Regions from separate parts of the Homo sapiens genome. Here region 2 is linked to region 1. The links are contacts of gene promoters, found by promoter capture Hi-C in blood cells and fetal thymus (Javierre and others, 2016). All regions are on one chromosome and are shown on one strand. Each heading gives the region's core, a stretch centred on a gene start or on the middle of the fragment in contact. The rest is flanking DNA. Distances are from core to core; before and after follow the strand shown. Region 1 holds the start of GOLPH3L (golgi phosphoprotein 3 like). Region 2 overlaps RPRD2 (regulation of nuclear pre-mRNA domain containing 2).

Evidence for each region. Contacts are between HindIII fragments. The CHiCAGO score rates a contact against its expected background, and 5 or more counts as called.
Region 2: a contact is called between a fragment that was not itself captured here and the fragment with the promoter of GOLPH3L in region 1, in 1 of 17 cell types (total CD8 T cells). The highest score is 5.1, in total CD8 T cells.

The regions. Positions count from the first base shown.
Region 1 is chr1:150,693,844-150,699,794 of GRCh38, forward strand. GOLPH3L (golgi phosphoprotein 3 like) reads right to left here and starts at 3,311. Exons shown (of 5, transcript NM_018178.6): 1 at 3,149-3,311; 2 at 813-1,007. The coding sequence starts at 995. It overlaps HORMAD1 (HORMA domain containing 1), which reads right to left. Exons shown (of 15, transcript NM_032132.5): 15 at 4,217-4,891. The coding sequence ends at 4,811. The HindIII fragment of the contact is 16,001 bases long and covers 1-5,951 here.
Region 2 is chr1:150,372,997-150,378,544 of GRCh38, forward strand. All of the region lies in intron 1 of RPRD2 (regulation of nuclear pre-mRNA domain containing 2), which reads left to right. Among named protein-coding and RNA genes, the nearest start is that of RPRD2, 12 kb to the left of the region's middle. The HindIII fragment of the contact is 536 bases long and covers 2,543-3,078 here.

The DNA of each region.
Region 1 (5,951 bases), core at 2,061-4,560:
TATATTTTTTTTTTTTTTTTTTTTTTTTTTTTTTGAGGCAGGGTCTCACTCTGTCATCCAGGCTGGAGTGCAGTGGTGCAATCTTGGCTCATTGCAACCTCCGCCTCCCAGGTTCAAGTGATTCTCCTGCCTCAGCCTCCCGAGTACCTGGGATTACAGGCACCCGCCGCCACACATGGCTAATTTTTTATTTTTAGTAGAGACGGGGTTTCACCATGTTGGCCAGGCTAGTCTTGAACTCCTGGCCTCAAGTGATTCACTCACCTCGGCTCCCCAAAGTGCTGGGATTACAGGCGTGAGCCACCGCGTAATCCAACTGTTGATATTTGCCTTATAAAGATGCACAGAGGAAAATAAAAAATTATTTCTGCTATAAGAAACCTACCAATTGTTTATTTCTGTAAGGCAACTAATCACACATGTTCCTTGTCTTTTCATGTAAAAGACTATTTCTCCTCAAAGCTGAAGAAGACTTCAGTGTGTGGGCCCTTGTTCTTACTTTAATAAACGGTATTATTTCGCCTTTAATCTAACTTGGGAAACTACAAGTACAAAACTTTATACTATATCCTCCTCTCCTGTATCTTCTAAAATTTTGGAGTAATTTTGTAATTAAATACACTTCACGTAATTCTACTTCTGGATTTTTACCCTCCAAGTATCGGTCACTGTCCCAACTCCTCCATCTTCCAGATGGTTAGAGCACAATTCTAAGACCAATTTATTATTAAATATATTCCATTAGGTTACTTCCTAAAACATTCCAATATTTAATAGTCTTTGAGATAGCCTAGCAAACCTAACTGCATTACCTCTTTATCTTTTAGTCCCAGAAGCAATACTTCTTCCATAAGAGTAAGGCGGATATCCTTAGAGTCTCCAGAATCTTCATTGTCTGGACTTTTCTCCCAATTACTGTCTTCCTCACTTTCCATCTTCTTTTCAGAGTTCTTGCTTATTTCAGTGCGACGGGCCCGGTGAGTTAAAGTGGTCATTCTCACCTGTTTCTGGAGGGAGTGGTGAAAAAAAAAATCCATATGTATGCTTATGTAAATAAATCATATATTCATACATGCATACTAAACATCCATACAAATAGGAAATATTTACAGATTTAAATATAGAAAGAAAGGAAGGAGTAATGACCAGAAAAAAATGGGTGGGTAATACAGTATCTTTTCCAAAGTACAATAGCTTGGACTTCACAGATGGCACTGACAAAAGATCAAATGAGTAATTCTAAAGTCCAGTAGAAATGCTCATCTTTCAAGCCTGTTGACTTCTTTTTTTCTTTTTCTTCTTCTTTTCTTGAGAGGGAGTCTTGCTCTGTTGCCCAGGCTGGGAGTGCAGTGGTGCGATGTTGGCTCACTGCAACCTCCGCTTCCCAGGTTCAAGTGATTCTTGTGCCTCAGCCTCCTGAGTAGTTGGGATTACAGGTGTGCGCCACCATGTCTGGCTAATTTTTGTATTTTTAGTAGAGATGGGGTTTCACCATGTTGGCCAGGCTGGTCTTGAACTCCTGACCTCAAGTGATCTGCCTGCCTGGGCCTCCCAAAGTGCTAGGATTACAGGCATGAGCCACCAGGCCCGGCCAAACCTGCTGATTTTTTCTGCATAATCTATAAAGAAGGAGTGAATATCCACCATTGTCACTCCTCTTTCACAAAATGGATCCCAAGTTAAGTAAGATGGAACAACAAAAAATTGTGAGCATCCAGCCCCAAAATGCATATAATAATTTGTATCTAATTTCTATAAACGTTCCATGGTACTACATTATAAAAAAACACAAAAAATAGAAAGTAAAAAAGAATACGAAAAACTAAATAGAAATACATGTTCTATATTTCCTTCCCATACCCTAATGACTCATTTCATGTACTCACTTTGGAGATCACAAGTCTAGACGATAACATTCAGAAAATCATGTGTAGTAATTCCACAGTCAGTAAACTTAGCAGCTCTAGTCCTAGCTAGCCATATCTTGCAAATACACAAGGAGCTGCAAACAAAAATTACTGGCAAGAGAGTGTTGAAAGATTAACAAATTTTCTCAATTTAAAAAAAAAAGTCAAAGAACATGTCTTTTATTCTATGTACTACGGTCAAAAGAAACTGCACTAAATCATTTGTGATAAAGTTTATAGTTAGCATACTTTATTTTATATAAATCTAGATATCAGTTTTTAAGATAATATATAACAAATATTTTAAATCAGCAATTATATAAAGGAGTATCTTTTTCAAGATCAAAATAATGGTATTTAAGAGTTGCTATGACTGGACTCGTTTCTACTCCTCTAGCAATATTTCCCATTGCTCCTAATAAGTAGTGTTGCCAGACTTTTTCTCAAAAATGTCTCATGCTTTCTTTCTGCTTCTGCTCCTCTGTACTTGCTGGGGTCTTCACCCTTTTCTCTTCCTCTTTACATTCTACCCATTCTTTAAAGGCCTTGTGAAGGCCTTTAAGTGACCTCCTCTTTTCTATTACCTATGTGTCTCATGGCCACTCCCTCAGCTGTTTCACAGAGCTTTATTTATACTCACTTCCTTTAAAGTATTTATTATAGTCTTTCTCTTGGTATAGCTGTCTCTCAACTGTAAACTTCTTAAGAACAGGGATATTGTCTTCTTGGGTTTATATATTCTCCATAGCAACTAGCACTGTCTTTAACATTGTTATTGCTCGATAAATTTATATTGATTAAAATGAATACTCAGAAGTGCATGTGAACATTTAAAATAGAAATACAAATGAAGTGAGCTACAAAAGTTTTTTTGTACAAGGGTATATTTCAAATATAATTTGTTATGGGAGGTGGGAAGAAAAGTGAAGGAGGAAGAGAACCATGAAATAAATTCTTAAGCGCACTAAGCCTATCTGGCACTGTGAATAGGGACTATTTCCTAAACCAATCCAAGAAACTTTAAACCTTCGCGGGGCAGGGGGGGAGGGGGAGAGGGGGCGGTTTCTTTGAGAAATTAGTTTCATCTGCACATTTACTAGTTAAAAATCCTACTTGAAAGAAAACAAATGGCCCAAATGAATACAAACCTTTCCCTCCCATAAAATAATAATTTTAAAAAATAGAGGTTTTTTTTGGTGGGGGGAAGGGACGTTAGGAAATGTAATTTTCTCGTTGCTTACCTGATGTTACTCCTGGGTTATGGCTGGACGCAGGCTGTAGCTTGTGCTGTATTTTAGAAGGACACCTGTTCTCCCCACCCCACCCCCGTCCTAGTAGGTGAAAAACTTAGCCACGCAGAGAGCACAAACTTCCTGATCCTTCGATGCAGAGAAGGAATAACACATCAGCTTCCTCAGGATCACTAGGCAACCTACCTTGGTGTTTCTTCATTGCGCCAATCAGAAATCACCAAGGTTGAGTCCCGCCAATCGGAGCTCACAGGGGGAGGCTCTCCCCCAGCTATTCTGTTGCGATCCAGACAAACACCACCAAAAGGAGGCAGGTTTGCGTTCAACCTGACAGCTGGTCAATCCAATGAAGGAACCTTGGTGGAAGAGAGGAAAGAGGGCTGCGCTCCCCACCCCCATTAAACCAGCCAATCAAAGCGCTGAGTGAGCTAACATGGGCTGCCAATCTCGAAAGGTTTCTGTGGGTTAATTTCAGCGTAGCAGGTGTGTTGCTGTAGTAGCGTATACTGGGACAATTAAGTGAGATGTGTTGGGATCCAAGCAATACAGCTAAAAATAAATAAATATTTTTACATTGGTTGTTTCTGACAGTCAGTTTATCCTTGACTTGACTGTTCCAGAAAAACATGATCTGGGTCAGTTTGTGTACGTTTATATGGTTTACCTTAAACAGGATGAATACATTTCTACCATCGCATATGTACCAGCATTCCCTATAGCGCTTATTACTGACAAACCCATGGATGTGTATGTTTTTGGAATATGGCTGCTGAAACTACAAGCGGCAAACAGACCAAGTTTTAAGTCTTCCTTTTTCTAAAGCAAAGAAAGCAGGCAAGGCTGGAACTAGCTCCCAGGTTTCTCATTAAAAGCACAGCATTTTTCATACTACCACTCAAAAATTCTAGAAAGTGTGCTCAACTCTTCTTGCAAAGTAATAGCTACCGAAATCATCTAAAAATTAGTATTCCCTATCCCCCCATCCTCCTACCAGCCTTTCAAATGAATGAAGCCATATTTCCTGCTACTTAAATAAAAATTAGAAGCGATAAAAGGGCCTACGTACTGAACAATATTTTATTTATGCTGCAAAAAATGCCATACTTTAAAAATCAGTCTTTTTGTCCTGTAAAAAAAAGCATAGTAAAGGTAAAGCACCAATTCTTAAATTGTACATTATATATTAAAATGTTAATACATTATGTCAAAATATTGAAGAACATTGTTTTAATAACAGCACAATGACAAAAGAGCCAGTTAAATGGTATAATTTTAACATAAGTAAAAAGTGAATCCATACCAAATTTTAATACCAAAGTAAACATTACTGTTTAGAAAAATGGCATTAGAGGGCCTTAACAGTTAGTATATATTTAAAGGAAATATTAAGTAGGTAATGAACAAAATCAATTTTGAAATTTTACTTATTACCGAATCAATTATGACATTTGTACTTTTGCTTTTATTCAAAAGTTCTATTGGATTTATCTCAAGATTAAGGACCACAATATGACAGTCAGCCAAAAACTTAGTTTTAGTGTACAAACTGCTTTAAACTACATATACATCTTCAGAGTTAGGGAAATATAATATAGGGTCCTTCAGTTTAAATGGTGAGAAGAACTCTGCAAGCCTGCAGAACAAAAATAATTTTTATATATGTTCCTTTGGTTCACTAAACTTTCTCCTTTTTGGCACTGACTCTTGACTAGAAGAATCAAAGTGATGGAGGACCTGTCAAAAGAAAACAACTACTAAGAATAGATACTTTCCTGTTTAAATGTCTTTAATTGTAGATTTTTTCATGTATCTGAGATTTCTCTTCTTTTTAAAAAAATTTATGCCTAGCATACCTAGCATAACTATATCTGGGTTTCTTAAAAGTAGAGTAAAATTTATTATTAACATCTTCCAATGGCTGCTGAAAGTATGTACTTGCAAAATGTATAATCTTCAGTAGGGCTGCTCTAGAAGTGAGAAGATAGATTTAACATTATGTCCTCAAAATAGCCAAATATTTCAGAGCAATAAGAAGGGAAAAAAGATTTTAAAATGAACTACAAATAGAAAAACATTCTACCTTGGAATCATGTACGATTTAAATCATGTCTTGCTTTTGTACTCTTGAGACGTTAACATTTGAGTTTTAAAAATAGTCTTAGGTTTTCAGTTGTTTAATTCTAACCTACTAATAATACTAAAATATCTAGTTGGAAAAATATGAATAATTATCTCAGAAATGGCAAATACATTATCTGATTTGGTAAAATAAGGTTCTAAATATGAAACAACTATAGGGTTTAAGTCAGGAAAATATTTTTTTCTCCAGAGGTACTAGGAGGAGACCCTATATTTTTAGGGAACACATGTATTTAGTAAATTATCCTCCTTCTACTTCAGTTTTGATCTCTAGAAAGCTCAGATCAAATTTGTGGCCCAATTTCAGTTCTATATAAACAAAATGGCCTTAGTATTCTTGTACTGTCACTTTCTCATTCTATATTCTCTTATATTTTTCCTGGCACTGATTTTTTTTTTTTTTAAAGACGGAGTCTTGGTCTGTCGCCAGGCTGTAGTACAGTGGCGCGATCTTGGCTCACTGCAACCTCCACCTCCCAGGTTCAAGCGATTCTCCTGCCTCACCCTCCCGAGTAGCTGGGACTACAGGCGTGCGCCACCACGCCCAGCTATTTTTTTTTTTTTTTGTATTTTTGGTAGAGACAGGGTTTCACCATGTTGGCCAGGAGGGTCTCGATCTCTTGACCTCGTGATCCACCTGCCTCAGTCTCCCAAA
Region 2 (5,548 bases), core at 1,561-4,060, 320 kb before region 1:
AAAGGAGATGAACTCTTTTTTTTTCTTTTTTTTTTGAGACGGAATTTTGCTCTGTTGCTCAGGCTGGAGTGCAATGGCACCATCTCGGCTCACTGCAACCTCTGCCTCCCGGGTTCAAGCGATTCTCCTGTCTCAGCCTCCTGAGTAGCTGGGATTACAGGTGCATGCCACCATGCCCAGCTAATTTTTGTATTTTTAGTAGAGACAGGGTTTCATCATATTGGTCACGCTGGTCTCGAACTCCTGACCTCAAGTGATCCGCCCGCCTCAGCCTCCCAAAGTGCTGGGATTACAGGCGTGAGCCACCACGCCTGGCACTCGTTTGTTTTTAAAAGGTTATTCTTGTTTCTGCTGGAACAGGGATACCAATTAGATGGCTATTGTAATCCAGTGTAAAATATTGATGGCTTGGACCAGGTTATGGCCAGCGGAAGTGATAAGTAATTTAATTCTAGATCTATTTTGAAAGTAGGTCCAGCCAGATTTCTAGGTGGATTAAATGTGGGGTGAGAGAGGAGGAGAATAATCAAGAATGACTTTTTTTTTTTTTTTTTTTTTAGCTTGAGCAACTAGAAAGATAAGAGTTGACATTTATTGATATGGGGAAGGCTGTGAGTGGAGCAGATTTTGGGAAGAAGATGAGAAATTTAGTTTTGGATGTGTTAGGTTTGGGATGTCTATTTTAAGAAATCTTTTTTAAAGATATAATTCACAAAAAATATACTCATTTAAAGTGTACAATTCAATTGTTTTAGTATATTCATAGAGTTGTTCAGCAATCACCATAGCGTGTCTAGTATATGGATTGTTTTTAGAGCCAGGAAGCTGGAAGAGATCAACTAGAGAGAGAGTGTAGATAGGGAAGTAAGTCTAGTAAGATAGAGCAGCAAGTACAGATATAGAAGAGGTCCAGAGAGAAGGCTATGGTATTATGAAATCTCTATTTGGTCTCTGTCCCATTTCCTGGCATACTACTTCAAAAATCCTTGGGTCTTCAAGGTGATAAGTGTCATTTTGTATGCTAATGAGTTGACTGATGGTTGGCATCCCCTGGGTAGCCTAAGGATGGGGGCTGGTCACTGGAAAGAATAAGGCAGGACTAGAGGTTGTGACTTTCCGCCCTACCATCTAACCTCTGGGGAAGGGAGAAGAGCTGAAGGGGTAAACTGAACACCAGTGGCCAGTGGTTTAATTAATTATGCCTTCATAACGAAACTTCCATAAAAATCCAAAAGGACTGGTTTTGGGAAGCTTCTAGACAGCAAAACATATGGAGGTTCCTGGAGGTTGGCATGCCCAGAAAGAACCTAGAAGCTCTGCACTCTTAGCCCTACCTTGCCCCCTCCATCTCTTCATCTGGTGTTCATTGGTGTCCTTTGTTATGTCCTTTATAATTAACCAGTAAACGTGTTTCCCTGAGTTCTGTGAGCTGCTCAAGCAAATTAATGGAACCCAAGAAGGGGGTTGTGTGAGCCCCGATTTATGGTGGTTGGGTCAGAGCAAATGTTAACCTGAGATTTGTGATTGGCATGGGAAGTGGGGGGCAGTCTTGTGAGACTGAGCACTCAGTCTGTGGGATCTGATGCTCTCTTCCAGTGTCAGAATTGAATTGGAGGGCACCTAGCTGGTGTTCATTGCAGAATTGCTTGCTTGGTGTGTGTGGGGAGAACTCTCATACATTTGGTCAAAGAAGTCTTTGTTGATTGTTGAATGAGAATGTAGGAAAAGCACTTTTAAGTTTGTTTATTCTCTATTCTCAGAAGGCTGTTGGGGCATTCTAGTATTTTAGATGACTCTTTCTACTTAGTCTAGTGTGTTATTGGCTTAGGTTCTTTTTGAGGTTCAAGGTAAACTTTGTCTCAGCCCCCCAAAGAAGTAATAAATCTATTTTGGTCTCTTGCGTATTTTTACTCTTGGTTTACGCTTAATGGCATTTCTGTATTCATTGAGCAGGAGCTCTGTTATAATTGGTTATTATCCACCCTCTCCCTCCCCTTTAGATGCCTAAGTCACCTTTTTTTTTTTTCATTCCATTGCTCTAGGTTCATAGAGTTATAGGTGGTATTTTTCCAGGTTTCTGGCAATGTTTCGAAACATGGAACTGTCTTAATTATAAACTATAATTATTGTAATGGTATATATTAAGCCTTTTTGTCTGTATTGTGAGACTTTCCAAGCAGTTGTTATCTTCTTCCTTTTAGCTGCTTAGTCTCTTACAGCAGAAGGGTGATTTCATCCATGGCCTTAGGTGGGTTTGAAGCAATATGTAAAACATAATTTTACTATACCAAATTCCATAGTAAGCTAAAGAGTAAATTTTGTAGCAAATAAACATTCCCATAACTAAAAGTGTGAAACACTACTGACAAACTTCACATGGTTCTGTGACATGGAGGTATCTTGAAAGGAAAATTACAATAGCAGTGGAAAAACACTAATATTAAAATTTGCTCACAGAGGCCACCCAGAATTACTTTAATGTTAGTTTTGTCTGTAGAGGAGGGACGAGTGTATGTATGTGCGTAATTTTTTAGGGAGTAGAAGCTTACTGATTTTATTCTTTTTTGTTGTTATCAGCTTCCTTGGGTTGAATGATTTTACTCTTAATGATTTGGCTTCCTGCCTTTCTTAAACTAATAAATAATAGTTGCATCAAAATTCTTTCTTCCTCCTAGGCTTTTGTCAGTTATGTTCTCTTTTTTCCTCCCACTTTTTCCAGGTGTTTATTGTTTTACAGCAGTACTTTTAAAAGTCAAAAGGGGAGATTTTGGTCAGTTGTTTTAAAATTTCAATTGAGAATTAAGGATACATGAGGTTTAATTTGTTGAAGGAACTCAGAGACCCTAATAAAAATTACCCAAGAACAGAACAATTTACAAACCAGCTTGACTGACTTTCTCATCTATTTGTCAAGGAAACAAAAAGTAGTTGTGTTTCGTAGTGATTTCAAATTCCACTGCCCCCACAGATATTAATTATAGAACACTGGAGGAATGTACATCTTAGGGAGAAAGTAGTAGAACCTAGTTATTCCTTTTGAGAAAAGGCAACAATTCCATCTGTGCTTTGAAATATTAAAGCTTTTCTGGCTAAGATAAAGATAGTTTTTAAAAATGCTTCATTCTTATTCTCTTGTTTTTAGAGAAATATTGAAATAGAGGCTCTTTGATGAAGGAAATGAAAATGTTTGGTTTGCTGGGTTTAAATTTTACTAGTGTTTGATTGAGGCCTTGATCTCTCCCTCATCTCTCTTTCTTCACTTCTTTCTCTTATAATTAATTTCACTTACTTGCACTTTCTAGTTCTCTGGAATCCATTAGCAGAGAGAGAGAGTGATTCTTTATTACCCTTTAGTAAAAGTTGCACTGTGAAAGGAAAAAAGGATCTTTTAATGTTTGGGATTATAACTTAACATTTTTTGTTTTAAAAAACCTAGAATGGATCCTGAGCTGTTTTTGTGTTCCTTTACTGTCATCATAGTTTTAGAGTGTAGCATGATACAGTCTTTTTTTTTTTTTGAGACGGAATCTTGCTCTGTTTGTTGCCCAGGCTGGAGTGCAGTGGCGCCATCTCGGCTCACTGCAAGCTCCGCCTCCCGGGTTCACGCCATTCTCTCGCCTCAGCCTCCTGAGTAGCTGGGACTACAGGCGCCCGCCACCACGCCCGGCTGATTTTTTGTATTTTTAGTAGAGAAGGGGTTTCACCGTGTTAGCCAGGATGGTCTCGATCTCCTGACCTCGTGATCCGCCCGCCTTGGCCTCCCAAAGTGCTGGGATTACAGGCGTGAGCCACCGCGCCCGGCCGATACAGTCTTTTAAAATGATGATCTTTGTGTCTAGGAGGCAGTATTACTTGAAAGATTAAAATTCTCTTATAATATGTTATGCCTAAAGATACAGAATGAGAAAATGAACTTAGAAATACTGAGTGCTGGCCGGGCGCTGTGGCTCACGCCTGTAATCCCAGCACTTTGGGAGGCCAAGGTGGGGAGATCACCTGAGGTCAGGAGTTTGAGACCAGCCTGGCCAACATGGTGAAACCTTGTCTCTACTAAAAATACAAAAATTAGCTGAGCGTGGTGGCATGTGCCTGTAGTCTCAGCTACTCGGGAGGCTGAGGCAGGAGAATTGCTTGAACCCAGGAGGCAGCAGTTGCAGTGAGCTGAGATTACGCCACTACACTCCAGCCTGGTGACAGAGCGAGACTATCTCCAGAAAAAAAAAGAAAAAAAGAAAGGAAATATTGAGTACTTCCTCTATGTAAACCCCTGTATTGGGTGCTGAAAGAGATGGAATTATAAGGAACTTAACATTTAGTAAATGGGCCGGGCGCGGTGGCTCACGCCTGTAATCCCAGTACTTTGGGAGGCCGAGGCGGGCGGATCACGAGGTCAGGAGATTGAGACCATCCTGGCTGACGGTGAAACCCCGTCTCTACTAAAAATACAAAAAATTAGCCAGGCGTGGTGGCGGGCGCCTGTAGTCCCAGCTACTCGGGAGGCTGAGGCAGGAGGATGGTGTGAACCTGGGAGACAGAGCTGGCAGTGAGCCGAGATCGTACCACTGCACTCTAGCCTGGGCGACAGAGCAAGACTGCGTCTCAAAAAAAAAAAAAAAACATTTAGTAAGTAAGATAGGAATTGAACACATATAACTGGTTCTGGGAAGTATAATAATATGAGTTTTATATGCTCTAACAGTTTAGAATAGGTATCACTTTGGTTGGATTGCTGGATCCTTATTGTTTACTGAGGATCCTTACTAGCTATCATACATGTATTACCTATAATCTTGATGTCAGCTCTGCAAAATATGAATTTGTAAATTTATAAAAAATATGAATTTATAAAATATAGATGTGTAACAGTTGAATTTATAAATTTATTAAAAATTTATAAATTGAGTCTCAGAGAAGTAAATTGATTATTTTGGGGAAATTGTCAGAACATTTATAGTGTAGGAAAAGGAAACGTGCCTGGTTTCAGAGTGGCTAAGCATAAGCTTAATTTTGTTTTATATAAGCAGAAGTCACGTGAAGGTAAGTGGGAGAAAGAAAAGAAATACGGTGGATTCAAAGCCCAAGTTGCTTACAAGTATGTTGTTATTACTTAATAATCTTATATTTCCAGTCATTAATGTAGTTAATTTTACAAACATAACACTAATAGTTTAGTAAGAAAATAACATTTACTGAGTTCTTATGTGATTTCATTTAATATAACAATTCATTAGTTAATGTATTATTACTGAGTAAATCTATTAGTGATGTATATGTAAATTACACTGGTGACAGGTAAAATAATAAACCCTATAAATGACAATAAATTAAGTACTTGAGGGCTCAGTGAGGTTAAAATAACTTGTTCAAGGTACACAACTAATGAACAATAGAGCCAGGTTGCAAACTTAAGCAGTCTTGACTCCAAGGCCTACACTTTACCATTATGGTAGACGGCTTCCTGCTTCTTTCAGAGTATATTGGTATTTTATAGTGTTCCATGGACAGTGTGGTATATACAGGATAAAAGTTCCCAAACAGCCTTGCACCT